Regions from separate parts of the Homo sapiens genome. Here all the other regions are linked to region 3. The links are contacts of gene promoters, found by promoter capture Hi-C in blood cells and fetal thymus (Javierre and others, 2016). All regions are on one chromosome and are shown on one strand. The core of a region is centred on a gene start or on the middle of the fragment in contact, and the rest is flanking DNA. Distances in the headings are between cores, read along the strand shown.

The links. Contacts are between HindIII fragments. The CHiCAGO score rates a contact against its expected background, and 5 or more counts as called.
Region 1: a contact is called between a fragment that was not itself captured here and the fragment with the promoter of DCUN1D4 in region 3, in 3 of 17 cell types (naive CD4 T cells, total CD8 T cells and total B cells). The highest score is 6.3, in naive CD4 T cells.
Region 2: a fragment that was not itself captured here is called in contact with the fragment with the promoter of DCUN1D4 in region 3 in 1 of 17 cell types (fetal thymus); the score reaches 6.1 in fetal thymus.
Region 4: a fragment that was not itself captured here is called in contact with the fragment with the promoter of DCUN1D4 in region 3 in 1 of 17 cell types (monocytes); the score reaches 5.4 in monocytes.
Region 5: a fragment that was not itself captured here is called in contact with the fragment with the promoter of DCUN1D4 in region 3 in 1 of 17 cell types (fetal thymus); the score reaches 5.1 in fetal thymus.

Annotation. Positions count from the first base shown.
Region 1 is chr4:53,378,623-53,381,322 of GRCh38, reverse strand. It overlaps FIP1L1 (factor interacting with PAPOLA and CPSF1), which reads right to left. Exons shown (of 18, transcript NM_030917.4): 2 at 2,206-2,250; 3 at 2,059-2,098. Among named protein-coding and RNA genes, the nearest start is that of FIP1L1, 2.3 kb to the right of the region's middle. The HindIII fragment of the contact is 1,961 bases long and covers 388-2,348 here.
Region 2 is chr4:53,013,400-53,016,099 of GRCh38, reverse strand. All of the region lies in intron 5 of SCFD2 (sec1 family domain containing 2), which reads left to right. Among named protein-coding and RNA genes, the nearest start is that of SCFD2-AS1, 87 kb to the right of the region's middle. The HindIII fragment of the contact is 1,682 bases long and covers 605-2,286 here.
Region 3 is chr4:51,841,845-51,844,544 of GRCh38, reverse strand. DCUN1D4 (defective in cullin neddylation 1 domain containing 4) reads right to left here and starts at 1,392. Exons shown (of 11, transcript NM_001040402.3): 1 at 1,278-1,392. The coding sequence starts at 1,302. RefSeq lists silencers at 165-284, 835-914, 1,015-1,364, 1,455-1,504, 1,515-1,664. The HindIII fragment of the contact is 3,870 bases long and covers 254-2,700 here.
Region 4 is chr4:52,842,907-52,845,606 of GRCh38, reverse strand. No RefSeq gene overlaps it. Among named protein-coding and RNA genes, the nearest start is that of RASL11B, 18 kb to the left of the region's middle. The HindIII fragment of the contact is 1,949 bases long and covers 321-2,269 here.
Region 5 is chr4:52,870,235-52,872,934 of GRCh38, reverse strand. No RefSeq gene overlaps it. Among named protein-coding and RNA genes, the nearest start is that of RASL11B, 9.3 kb to the right of the region's middle. The HindIII fragment of the contact is 3,091 bases long and covers 1-2,700 here.

The DNA of each region.
Region 1 (2,700 bases), core at 119-2,618, 1.5 Mb before region 3:
GTCAGTAGGAAACGGGCAAATTCTAATAGCAGGAACTTTGGTAGAGCAATGCAATGATGTACCAAGCCAGATAGCAGTAGGTCTGGCAGAGTACCTTTCTTCAATAGGCCTACTCTTTTGGAAGTTTTAATTTTCTATCACCATTAAAATGTTAGAAACATGATAAAATTTTAAGCTTTTTCTAGAAAAATAACACTGTAAAGGAAATTGTTTTTTCCCCCATAGGATGAAATCAACTCAACGGCTCCCCAAATGAAGTTGCAGAAAGGAATATAAAGCTATGTTGACAGTGACACTCAGGGAAGGTAGAAGGTTCCCTCCAATAAATTTTAGCAAGTTGTGTATTGCGGAATTAAAATTAAAGAATGTTTGATTAGAAAGTAAGCTTTTAAAATTGTAACCAATAAAAATAAAAATTAATGGGATAAAGATTATCATATAGAAAAGTATATTTGATTGTAAAACTATACCTGTAATTAATTTCTTGACCAACTGAAGGAATGGGTACAAAGAAATATTCAATCACTTTCATAACATAAACTAAAACTAATCTCAACTTTGTGGTTGAGATCAGAATTAGGAACTGAGTTGAATATATAAATTTTAAAATGAAATAACATTTCAGATAATATACCAATGAGTGAAAAGACTATAGGGGATTTTTTGGGTAAGGAAGCTGAACTGTAGTTTCAGCTCCTCCTAAGCTATTTCTACTTCCATTTCTCACTTTTTCCCTCTATCCATTTTTTGTTGTAACAGCTTTGAGATGCAATTCACATATTATACAATCTACCCATTCAAACAGGACAACTGAGTTTTAATATGGTCACATAGTCCAACCATCACAACTATCTAATTCCAGAATGTATGCATCACTCCCAAAAGGAACTTTGTATACATTAGCAATCACTCACCCAACTCTTAGTAACCACTAATCTGTCTCTACGGACTGACATCTTTAGCTTCCACATTTGTAAGGTTCATCCGTGTTGTAACATCTACCAGTACTTCATTTTATTGTCCTTGCCAAATAATATTCCGCTGTATGGATATAACACATTTAATCTATCCATTCATCAGTTGATGCAGCTGCGAGGTTTTCTTTTTCCACTTTCTATTAAGAATAATGCTGCTATGAATATTCACGTACAAGTTTTTGTCTGAATATGTTTTCATTCCTCTAAGGTGGAGGACTCACATGGTAACTCCATGTTTCACCATTTGAGAAAATGGCCAGGCTGTTCTTCAAAGCAGCTGCACCATTTTACAATCCCACCAGAAGTGTATGAGGGTTTTATTTCCCCATATCCTCACTAACACCTGTTTTATCTTTTCGATTGCAGCTTACTCGGTATGAAGTTGTATATCTTCCACTTTTTAAACCCAAATATTCCTTAAAATCTTCTAACTACCTCTCCCTCCATTACAGACACTAATGCATGTGGTCAGGGTAAAGCCGACATCTCCATGTACTTCTTTACATGGCTTGCTTTTTGAAATCTGGGGTAAAATTCTGACTCCCTGTATATGTTCTATAAATGAACACTTACATCTTTCTTACAATCTAACAAAGAAATCAACCTTATAACAAATCAGCTAATTACATTTTGAATGCAAACAATACATAGCATTGAAATTACAACCAAACTGCCATTATATCATCAAAAATGTTAATAAACTGGAAAAGCAGTAGTTTGGAGTGTTCCTGATTTACTTAAAAACATTTTCAATTAAGTTAAAATATTTTTATCAGTAGCTTAACGATTATACTGTATACTTCACTACTGAATTCACTTAAGAGTAACAAGTTACTTAACAGTGTAAAATCAGTCCAATCCTAAGTTCAAAAACTTTGTCCTTTAAACTACCAACAAATAGAATTGGCGTAAGATTAGGTCCTGAAACTGGAATAATCCTTAAAGGATTCAATGTCCTCCAAAATGTTGTAAGTCAGTGTTGTAATGAAGCCAATGATTGTAAGAAAATAATTTTGACAACTGACAGAACCATTGTTTCACACAACCTGTGTAATAGGCATCAACAGAAAATTTCACTAACCTGGCATTTTCTTCTTCTGGCCTTTCAACTTCATTTTCATCTACCAAGTAAAATAAACAAATAAATAAATAAGCAAACAAAATAAAGAAACCACTCTTAAAGAAACTAGTATTATGAAAATCTGAAGTGATCATCACAAGCACTAACCTAGGTCCTTTGCCAAATCACTGTGCACATGCACGTCCCATGGGCCTATAAGCACATCCAAAGTTAGATCACCTTATAATTACTTAACAAGATACTTATTTTATGGAAAAAAAAATCAGACTTTACTGCTATAAAAATAAGCTTAAATTTAAGAGGTAATGAAGATTTCCAGATCTTTGTAAAAGAAATCCTACACATTCACATTTCAAAGAGTAGTAACTAATGCTAAATCTTGCCACCAAACGATTTTTTTTTACAAGTTTATCAAAGTCACATCATCAAGGACCTGCATGGTGCCCAAAGTGCACTTTTACTATTCTATTCTAAAGACAATCAAGAATATATGTTTTAGGCAAGGAACAAACATTAACTTTCAAATCTGGTGTTAACAAGCAAGAAGGGATTGTGACTTAAAGTTAAAAACCAGATGTCAAACAAGTACCCTTCTAGAGAGAAGTACATGATGCATTAAATTTATTTTGAGAAAAACAAATA
Region 2 (2,700 bases), core at 196-2,695, 1.2 Mb before region 3:
TTTATTCCTCCACCCCAGGTGACCGTGTAGGAAAATGGTTATTTTAGATGTTAGAAGCCCCTCTGTTAAGAAGCAGTTTCTGCCTTCGTTTAATTCTTCTTCCACAAATAAGATTTATTTTGGAACTTCAGTCAAAAACATCTGTACTTTGTACAGGACAAACATCTGCCTTCCTACAAGAGCTGCTGGCCTTCCTGATGTTAGATAAATGCATTTTGTTCTTTGAAAGCCCCTCATAGAGAAGAGACTGTACAATAAGAGAAGCCCACTCATTCTTGAATCCAGAGCGCCTCGTTGTGGCTCAAACATGTTACTACAGAAGACCGTTTATCAATTTGCTATTTCTCTTCTCCCCAAACTTAATCAGTTTTAAAGGTAGAATATATTTTAATAAATATATTATTTGACCATGCCATATGGTCAAAGCTTCCAGGAACACATAGATATGTGTTACCAACTTGGAAGATAAACTGGGGTTGGGTACACTCAAGTTATTTTTCTAATAGTGATGGAAGACGTGTGCTGATAAGTTTTCAAAGTCTTATCTGAACCGCCTGATGACTGACAACGTGCGTTTGAGAGATTTTGCTTCTCCTGGGAAGCTTGCCCTGATTCTCCTGCTGCTTCTTCCAAAGGTTCGTTTTGTTTTTTGGGTTTTGTTTTTGTTTTTTTGCATATTTTCCTGTACTCCTTACTAAAAATTCTTCAGGGCAGAGCTGCTGTCTTACCTTTGTATTCTCAATGCACAGCACAGTGCCTGGCAAATAGCAGGTCCCCAGTAACACTAGATGAATGACAGGTGTTTTAGGACCAACTGTGGTGGATCAGAAGAATAAAATCCATAATCCTGGCCTGTGTCCTGACCATCCAAGTATATGGTTAGTCTTTATTACTGTGTTTTTTTGTATTTACTCTGTTAAAATTACCTTAAATATAGTGAGCTTTGCTTAATGAGAAACTGATGTAGCAAATAGCAGACCCTGTAATACAGCTGGTCATTTTAACACAGTGCCTTTTCTCCTCCTGACTCACTGACTTTTGGTTTGTTTTGCTAAATCATTACCTTGTAATGTCTAGTTTTTATTCAAAACAACTGCTACTAAGTACTACACCAGTAAAACGTTCTAGTGGATATTATAAATTCAAAAATATTTCTATGTACCCTTATAACAGGGAATGCTGAGTTAATGCGTTTTTCACAAAATAGAGATTCTCTAACCATTTTTTGGTTGTCCCCTTACCGTCTGTACCAAAGCAAGCTATGTAGGACACTGTTTTTTTCAAAAGGTGCATTTAAGTATGTTTTAAGAATTGAGGTATATCCCACCAAGCTCGTGTATTTATTCAAGAAGCATTTATCTCCTGTTATATGCTTGGCATTGTGCTGGAGTTCTGGAGGTGGCTAAGACAGTCCTTCCTGGAGCTCACGGGGGAGCCCAAGGAGCCCTAATATCATGTGATCTGTGCTATAACAAGGACTATAAACACAGAGGGCTGAGGCAGCACTTGGAGAGGGTTGTGCCTATGAGGTTCTTGATAAATGCTGAATAAGCTGAATTCAGGGCCTTCTCAAGGTGAGTGAATCACCTTTGTGTATTGCAAAGGAAAACTAAGAATAGTGTCTTGGATGACAGGGAAGAATAACTGTACAAATAAATGTTACATACCACACTTAAAAATGTCAACTTGGACAAGGCAAGTAAGGAACACATGGATTTTAGGTGTGGCCAGTGAAAATCAGAGACTCTGACTATAATCCCTTTCTAACCTCCCCTTCAGTGCGTAACTAACACTGTTTTCACAAAAACTCTGAAACTTTCTTTTCCAGGCTTTTATACAAGTTGTTTCTTTTGCCTGGAACAATCACTGCCACTCCATCTCCATACCAACTCCTTTCACCCTGGAGGAAGCCTCCTCTGTCTCATAGCACTCTGCACTTCCACATCATAGCGCCTACCATACCATAATGTAAACAGGTCCACCCATTTACCTCCCTGCATCCCCTGCACATGGCAAAGGGTGTATGTCTGTTTTTCTCCGGGACCCAACACATGCTCAGCACCTCAGGCTTAATAAAGATGAGTTAACTCAAATTAGTTAATTTAATTCCAAGTTGCTCTCTCATATAGCATCTCTGTATGGGACTTCAAAATACCAGATATTTTTTAGTTGACCCTTTTTATTTTATACTGAAGCCTTTTCATAAGATGGGAGGACTATAAAATCCCTCCCCTGCACGGAATCCAAGCAATAATACCTTTCCTTCAGTGGTAAACATGTGAAGCTTCTTGGAATTTAAAAAACTATTTTTTAATAAGGAGATATACAGTCTGGGATCTGCCCTTGAGCCTGATTTCTCATCTATAAATGAGGAGATGGGCCTAATGATCTCAGAGGACGTTCCAGCAAAAGTTATTCTCAGAAGCCATATAATAAATGTTATAAAACTACCTTATTACTGCCAACATTTCACATAATATTAAGATTTTGAAGAGTACTCATGAGTAGTTTTGACAGAAATTGTAGAGACTATCTCCCCACCAACCTCTAGAACATAACAGCTAAATGATTTTCGTTGACTAATTGAATGAATGAGGAAAAAAAGCCACATGGCAAAATCCCAAGTAATAAAAAAGGAAATATTCTCACAGTTGAAGGAATTTTCAAGAAGGAAAGGGAGAATTGTCTGCAAGGGTACAA
Region 3 (2,700 bases), core at 143-2,642:
CCAGGGACCCCGACACCTCCCCGGCGCCAAGCCCCCGACCCGGCCATCAGGGCCCGACCCCTCCGGCTCCCGCTGCTGAAACCCCGCAGCCCGCACCCCTGCCCCGCCTCCTAGTCCCGCTGCCGGAGCCCGCGCCAGCGCTGACCTCGCTTCCCGCCGTCCGGGGGGAACCACGGCCAGTTCCAACCTTAGGGCACTTACCCCGTCTCCTCCACCTCAGCCCCGCCCCCTCCTCTCTCCGCACCCCGAAGCTTGGACTCCCCCCTTCAAGGGACCCTGCCTCGACAGGGAGAGGAAGTACCTCCCCTAAGCACAGTCTGACACCCCCTTAGCCCGGCTCCGGACCGAATCTGGACGTGACAGTCCTCCTGCCCAACTCCGCCCCACCTCCCCTTCCTCCCCGACTAGCTCCTCACCCCCATTTCATATTCTCCACCCCTGCCCCCACTCTGCCACCCCAAATCCTACCCACCTTTTTCTCCTCTTCCTCCCAATCGCCCTACCCTTCCACACCTGCCCCATCTCTTTACCCCAACATCTTCCACTCCCACCACTCTCCGTTACCCACCGCCCTTCCAACGCCCCTCCCGCCCCGCAGGACTCCCCAACTACCATTACACCCCAGTCCCTCCCACCACCTCGCTTTCCCGTTACATCAGCCCTCGTCCAGTCGCCCGCCCTCCTGCCCCGCTCGGCCGCTGCCCCCATTCCCCCACCCCATTGTTCGCCGCCCCCCCCCCACCCCCCCGCCAACCAGCCCTTCTTCCCATTGTCCCCGCCCCCGCGCCCCCCTCGCACTCACCCGCCTTTCTCACGGAGCCGCCCGCACCACTCAGCCCTTTGGAAATCCTCACCCTTGTGCCCCGCTCGCTCGCTCGCTCCCTCCCTCTCCCCGCCGGTGCCACCCCCCCACATCCCCGGCCCTGCCCGCTACAGCCCAACGCTGCCTCCACCTCCATGCACCCCGGACACTCCGATCTCGGCCCTTCATCGCACGTCCAGCCCTCCCTTCCCCCAACACTGAAAGAGAGCCAGTCCCCACCCCCCTCACCTCCGCCCTCCCCGCAGGCCGGTCCCTTCCCCCCACGCCCGCCCCCGCCCCACGCCGCCCGCAGCGTCACCGCCCGCCCCGGCCCCGGGAGGGGAAGGGGTGGTTCCCAGGCAGGGGCTCCCGGCGCGTTTCGGGACCCGAGGCGTGGGGCGGGGACTGCGGGAGCCGAGTGGCGAGTTTGGCAGCCGCCCGGCCCCGGCCCGCTGGCTGGCTCTCTGCTACTCACTGACAGCGGCGGCATCCGAGTGCATTTTCAGGCAGCTCACACCCGGCTCGCCGCCCAGGCTCCCGCGCTCGCCTCGCGGTCCCCCCACCAGCTCACTGCACCTCGGCTCGAAGCTGAGGACCCGCCGCCGGGCACTCCCAGCCCGCCCATCTCGCCTTCTCCATTGGCTAAACCGCGGCTCAGGGGCCGCCCTGCTGCGTCTCTCATTTGACAAAAGGAGTGCCCATAGCGCCGGTCTGGAGCTGGCAACGAGGCCCCGCCCCCCACTGGCCAATACGATTGGTCCTGGGGCCTTGTCTCCGTAACGCCCCTGGCGGAGGCCATGCTCCGGAGCAGCGGGTTGGGCCCGGCTGCTGTCAGTCACCCCCAGGGGTCCGAGAGCGCGTGTAGGGGCGAAGCTGGGAAATTGGTCCACCTTGACCCTGAAACCCCGCCCAGTGGCGGGCGGGATTGGTGGAGCTGGAGACCCACCAAGAAAGATGGGTCGGCGTCTGAAACAAAGCACGCGAAGTGTTTCCCAAAGAATAGAGCAGCGCAGCGCAGTTGGGGGCGGCTCGTACCAGCTGCTGGAAGTAGGGAAATGCGTCCGTCCCTAGCGCCCGGCGCGACGCGGCCGGGTCTCCCGCCACTTGTCCCACGACACTTGTCCAGTTCGCGCCGAACTCGGACTGGGACTTCTCTTGTCAGCTGCTTCCTACCGCAGGAAACTGGATTAAGAATTGCCGCGTCTTAATTTCCAGCAAACCTTCTGGTGGGGAGCAAATTTCCATTTCTCCTACGAAGATCCATCCTCTCCCCACTTTCGAAATGTACTTCTTTTCCAGAGTCCGCATACTTGTTTCGCAGAGTTCGCACACTTCTTTCCTCTAGTCACTAATGTCTGTTAAAGAGGCTTCGAATGCCACGAGCATTGTCCGTCACACACATCTGTATGCCCCAGACATCAGACAGAAATACAGGGCCGCGCTCTGAGCTGCGGACTGAGCCTAACACATGGACGAGTCCAGGGGGCAGACCACCAGCCCGTGAAAGACCCCCGGCGGCATCTAAGAAAACCTGTCACTCCCGCGGAGAGGCCGTCCAGAAATTGAAACTGGCTGTTATTTGGCAGAGGGAGACGTTAATTTTGGTGAATTCTTCTGACCCTAAGTCAAGAATTCGCACCATTTCCATGAGTCCTGCCCTGATTTTTCAATACTTGAAGCTAACTTATCACACCGCATTATGGTAACAGAACAATATTTCGAGATATTAACGGAGGATTCCCCCCACCCCAACCCACCCCCACCCTACCCTGCCTCCACCCTCATCCCAGCCACCAACTCCAACAACAACACACCTACAAGGCATCCCCATATCCTAAGGCCCTGGGCCATCTGGGAGCCTCAAAGAGTAGGTGACACCACAAATCACAGGTAACAGA
Region 4 (2,700 bases), core at 46-2,545, 1.0 Mb before region 3:
AATTCTTATGAAGGAGCTTTTGAAAATCATCTTCTAGCTAGATAAAAAGAAATAGCTCCACAGTGGTATATGTGACAAATGCAGTGTCCCTGGTGTGTTTGGTGTTTGCCTCTCCCAGCACCTCATACCTGGTAAGCACGCACTATTGTTCAAAATAGCTCATAGGGCTTCCTTTGGTCATCTCCCAGCTCATCCCCAATGAGGAGCTTCTGCAACTCACTGATTTCTACACAACAGCAGCAGATACATGCATCGCCATGACCCTTCCCAGCGGGCATTTATGACATGAAGGAGCTGACCAAGACACAGGTGCCAAAGCTTAACTTTTTAATTTTTGAAAGACAGTATTGCTTTGTCACCCAGGCTGGAGTGCAGTGGTGCAATCACGGCTCACTCAACCTCCCAGGCTCAAGCAATCCTCCCACTTCAGCCTCCCAAGTAGCTGAGACTACAGGCACATGCCACCACACCCAGTAATTTTTTTTTAATTTTAGTAGACACAAGGTCTCACTATGTTGCCCAGGCTGGTCTCAAAATCCTGGGCTCAAGCAATCCTCCTGCCTTGGCCTCCCAAAATGCTGGTATTACAGGCCTGAGCCACTGCACCTGACCAAAACTTACTTATTTATTTTATGAACCAAGCCGATGCTTCATAAAACCATCCTTTCATTCTACAAGACAACCATGCACTATTCATTACAATTCCCAGGAATCTCAGACCTAAGAGTGATGCTTAACTGGATCCATATTCCTCATCTTGAATATTCTGGTATGACTCGTTCACACCTTCATTGCTAGGCCTTTAGCTAAGCCTTTGTTCTTTTATCATTGCTTAGTGTATAGTTTCATTGCCTCTGTTTTTTTAGAAACCAATCTCAATTCCCATCATAAATGAGTAGTTGAGGGAGTGAAAAGAAACTATCTACACATCCTGAAGAAAGGAATATAAACATAAACCACACACTCATGTTTTGGTTGTGAATTGAGTCTGATCAATTTAATAAAGTGTTGATTAAGGTTAAGACTTAGAGTTAGGAAGTCAAAAGGCTTGGAATAGCTATCTCCTTCTTAGCTTAGCTGAAAAACATTCCCTCACTTAGGACAACAGTGCCTGTGAGGGCCCCACACTTTGATGAGGCAGGGAACCTTCAGGAGAAAGAATGTACTAAATACAGGAAACCACCTTGCTGCCATGAATGAGTCTTAGGGAATAAGACTATTTGTGGCAGACAGGATTACCTGTCTAATCCAACAGCCAATCCCAACTCCTGGGCCTTTACAGATTCTGTTACAGAAGCAAAGAAAGGTAAATTCTCATTTCCCAATCTCTATCATAGTGAGGACAATTATAACACAGTCCTGGCCAATGAAATAGAGGAAGTGGAAGTTTGTTGACAGTTTCAGGAAAACATTTAGCTCTGATGCAGCTGGCACTGCCCCTGGCACTGCCCCTTTCAGGAGGAAGTCAGAATGTGGATGCTGAAGCCGGAAGGAGGGTGGATGCGAATGGGGAGAGAGTGCGGAAGTTCTCCCCTGACTGTTTCATCCTCTCAGTGAAGCAGAAAGCAAGGGCAGCAGCTGAGATGGTGATGGGGAAGGAGGTGTTGTGGAGTTGAGGAAGGAGGAAAAAGTGTGAAACAGTCACAGGGTGGGGTAGAAGGACGTAAATAAACGAGGGATACATGGTAGGATTATTGGGCAAACTCAAGACCGACTTGAGATTGGTGGTCAGGAACATAAAATGAGACTAGCCAGCATGGCTGAGTATTTTTCTCAGGTCTTGTCATTTGGCCTGCATGCAGGCACAGAATAGGATTTGACTAGATTGTGTTCTGCCAGGATAATAAACGAAGAGAGAGAGGTAAAGAGGCTGAGGGTCTTTGCAAAGAAGTGACTCTAGACATGGATAGTGGACACTCAGCTGGAGAAATGAGGAAAGGAGGGAGATGAGGGCAGTAAACTTAATGGGACCTTCTACCCACTAGGGCCAAAGAATGGTTTCTGTTGAGCAACTAGAGGAAGCCAGCTAGGGGAGTAGAAGATGTGGGGCATGAGGGATGTTTGAAACTGAGATTAAGGAGGAGATGCAGCTTTAGTCACATCTGGATTATGATAAAGATGCAGTGTCTGGAGTAGAAAATGAAGGTCAAAGAGATTATGCTCTCCCACTTCCTTGAATTTAGATAACAGACCTAAGGCCTGAAAACGCAAAAGTGTTATCCTCCCATCTCCCACAAAACTGACCGGTTTGAGCCATTCATTGGAAGCTTTTCTCCATGTAGCAGACAATAGGATCCCCCAGAGTTTCCAAACCTCTCTCCTTCCCTCCTATCCCTATTAGCAAACTCCAAGCTGGAGCCATGTTCAAGAGGAACTCAGCAGCAGACAGAGAAGCAAGACAGGGCCTTGGGGGAGGAGGGTTGGAAGGAGGGGGTGTGGTGGGAATGGCAGCTTAGTCTCAAAACAAGAGGAAGACTTAGTAGTTAGTGGTCGCAAGAGCAGGGAAGCCTGGCTCTCCTGCTCTGGGGCTGAGAACCCCTCTCCTTTGTTTAGCCTGGAGAAAGCCCCCAGTTTGAGGCGGAAGTGAAAGCTGTAAAGGTTAGAGCACAAAGGGCTGAGAGGCAAGCAGGACATTGTGTTTACAGAGTCAGGATTTCCCAGCTGGAAAGGTCTTTACAGTGCATCAGTTAAGGTTAGATG
Region 5 (2,700 bases), core at 70-2,569, 1.0 Mb before region 3:
AAACACTCACATGTCTCTGATTTTAGTTCTCTATAAAACACTGTCATTTTTGAAAGAACCATGAAGTTGGAGATTATTTTAAGATGTAATCAAAGCAGGATTTTTGTGGACACAGACACTCTTTTCTTGCCCAGGTATGTTTTCCACATAATATCAGTTCTTTCATGAAATAGAGGAGACCGCAGGTGCCTTTTTCATTCTACTAATCTTAAAGTGTTGAATTTGAATAAGGAAGTTAATGGTAGCCATCCGTAAGAAATGTTAAAGAGGAGACGACTTTTCTAAAATAAAAAATTGGAAAGTAACCTGTTACGTGACTCAAATCTGTACTCCTTCATTCATTCCTAAAGATTGATGACTGAGCACCTGCCATGTTCCAGGCACTGTGCTAGGTTCTGGGCCACTGTGATGAAAGAACAAGATGCGTCCCTGACTCTCTGGCACTCAGAATGAGTAGCTGGCGCTTCTCTGATGGTCTGGCCCGACGTGAGCATCTACTGAAGGTGAAGTTGTAAACCGCATGTCTATATGCAAAGGAAACTTTCTGGAAATACATATATAATGGTACTTCTGGGAAGGAATATCGAATGGGAGAGCTAAGAGAAGGGAGAGTCTCACCCTCAGTATACTTTTGTATTATTTTATTTTTTTTTACAGCAAATGTGTATTTGTGTATTACTTTTGTGACTTTAATCGGCCATAGCAGAAAACTGTATTTTTACAAATTAATTTTTTATTTTAAGAAATATTAAACTTTGGAAGGCTGAGGCAGGTGGATCACCTGAAGTCGGGAGTTCTAGACCAGCCTGACCAACGTGGAAAAACCCTGTCTCTACTAAAAAAATTACAAACTTAGTCGAGTGTGGTGGTGCATGCCCGTAATCCCAGGTAGGGAGGCTGAAGCAAGAGAATCACTTGAACCTGGGAGGCAGAGGCTGCAGTGGGCCGAGATCGCACCACTGCACTCTGGCCTGGGCAACAAGAGTGAAACTCCATTTCAAAAAAAAAAAAAAAAAATTCAGAAGCCTCTAATCTGAAATGATGAAAGGAGGAAGGTATTGATTGTAAATGTTATTCAGCAGTTCTTTTGTCTTGAAAATGCTCCCCATACTGTAATTAGTATGGTCAGGGGCAGTCTGTGAATGGTGGGAGAAGTGTCAGAAGTTTGGCTTATGGTCATCTTTTTCTTCTCTGGAGGCTGGCTTGAGGAGCTGAGCCAGGCCGGTGGTCAGGTGGTGGAAGGCTTTGGAGGAAAGGTGAGCTGGAAGAATTTCTTCGTAACCAGAGTTTGGGTGAAGATGAAGCAGGAGGCACAGGACGTTCACTGCTCCTTGATTAACAAGCAGGAACACAATAGACATTTGGTATAAATCCTGCAAAGGGCCTCCAACAAATAAGGAAAAAGAGGGGGGCTTGGGGGAAGGAGGACTGTGGCCATGGCAGAGCCTCCCGGAAACTCCCTGCTGCTGCCAGGCTCGTGGGCACACTTCTCAGCATGGGAGAGGCTGGAGGAGAAGCAAGTCATGCCCTCCACCCCCGGAAGGAGCAGCAGGCAGAAAAGGGCTCTGAAGGCTTCTCTGGGCCTAAGTCCCAGTTCTGCCACTCCAAGCACTGTGGATCTCTCCAAGCCTCAGTGTCTGCATCTGTAAGAAACGATAACTATGGCACCTGCCTCATGGGGGGGTTGCTGTGGAGCCATCCCTAACACAGTGGCCAGCATGTGAATCTCAAGGAATGTGGGTTTTCACACTGAGGACGCCAAGGAAGTTACCTCTCAAAACTATAAAACGTCAACAGGAGAATAATACTAAATGAAGAGGAAATTTGGAGGCATTCATGGGGTCTACAAGGAGATGAGAAAATGGAGGAGGAATAACAACTCGGTCCAACATAGGTCCAAGACAGCATAGCCCAGAGGTCAAGAGCCCAATCCGATGGCTGGATTCCAATCCCACCTCTTCCACTTCGTAGTCCACCTCTCCTGGTCTTCGCTGACCATGCAGTTGTGTAACAATAGGACCTGCCACATTAGGTTGGGGGAGAATTAAAAGAGTTAATATGTGTGATGCATTTGGAACATGGCACATGGTGGGCTCATACAGAGCACATAAGAATTTATTGGTAATAAATGTCTGATGATTGCTCATGCAGGGCCATATGTCTGTGATAGAACTTTCTCTATCACTAATGCTAGCCACGAAGTCAGGCAGAATCTGAGATGGACTTACTGATTTCCCATTTCAACCCCTCCAAATGTATCCATTCGAAAGGGATCCAGCAGCTGTCAACCACCTGATGGTGACTTAAAAGGCTGAGCTGAGTGATAAGACTGGTTTCCCCTGTCTGGGGCCTGGGTCTGAGTGTTTATCACCTAAACAAGCACTTACAAATCCAAACCTTCTGCCAGCGACCTCACTGGCCACACTCCTTATAAACATAATTGATAGAAGTGTAAATACTTTGTAGCAGTTGACTCCTGCCTTTGTAAACCCTCTTCTGGAGTCTACCTCAGGGCAGACATAGCGGGCATGGGCACGGCCAAGTGGTTGGAAGCACTCCAGGCTACATCAGCCAAGAGTTGTCCCTAGCAGGCCGGGCCCTATGCAGATGGCTCTGTTTATGCCACCCCTCCATTACAATGGGATCCCAATAACAAAGAATTCCATCAAACTACCCCCAAGACCACTATTATTTATTTTA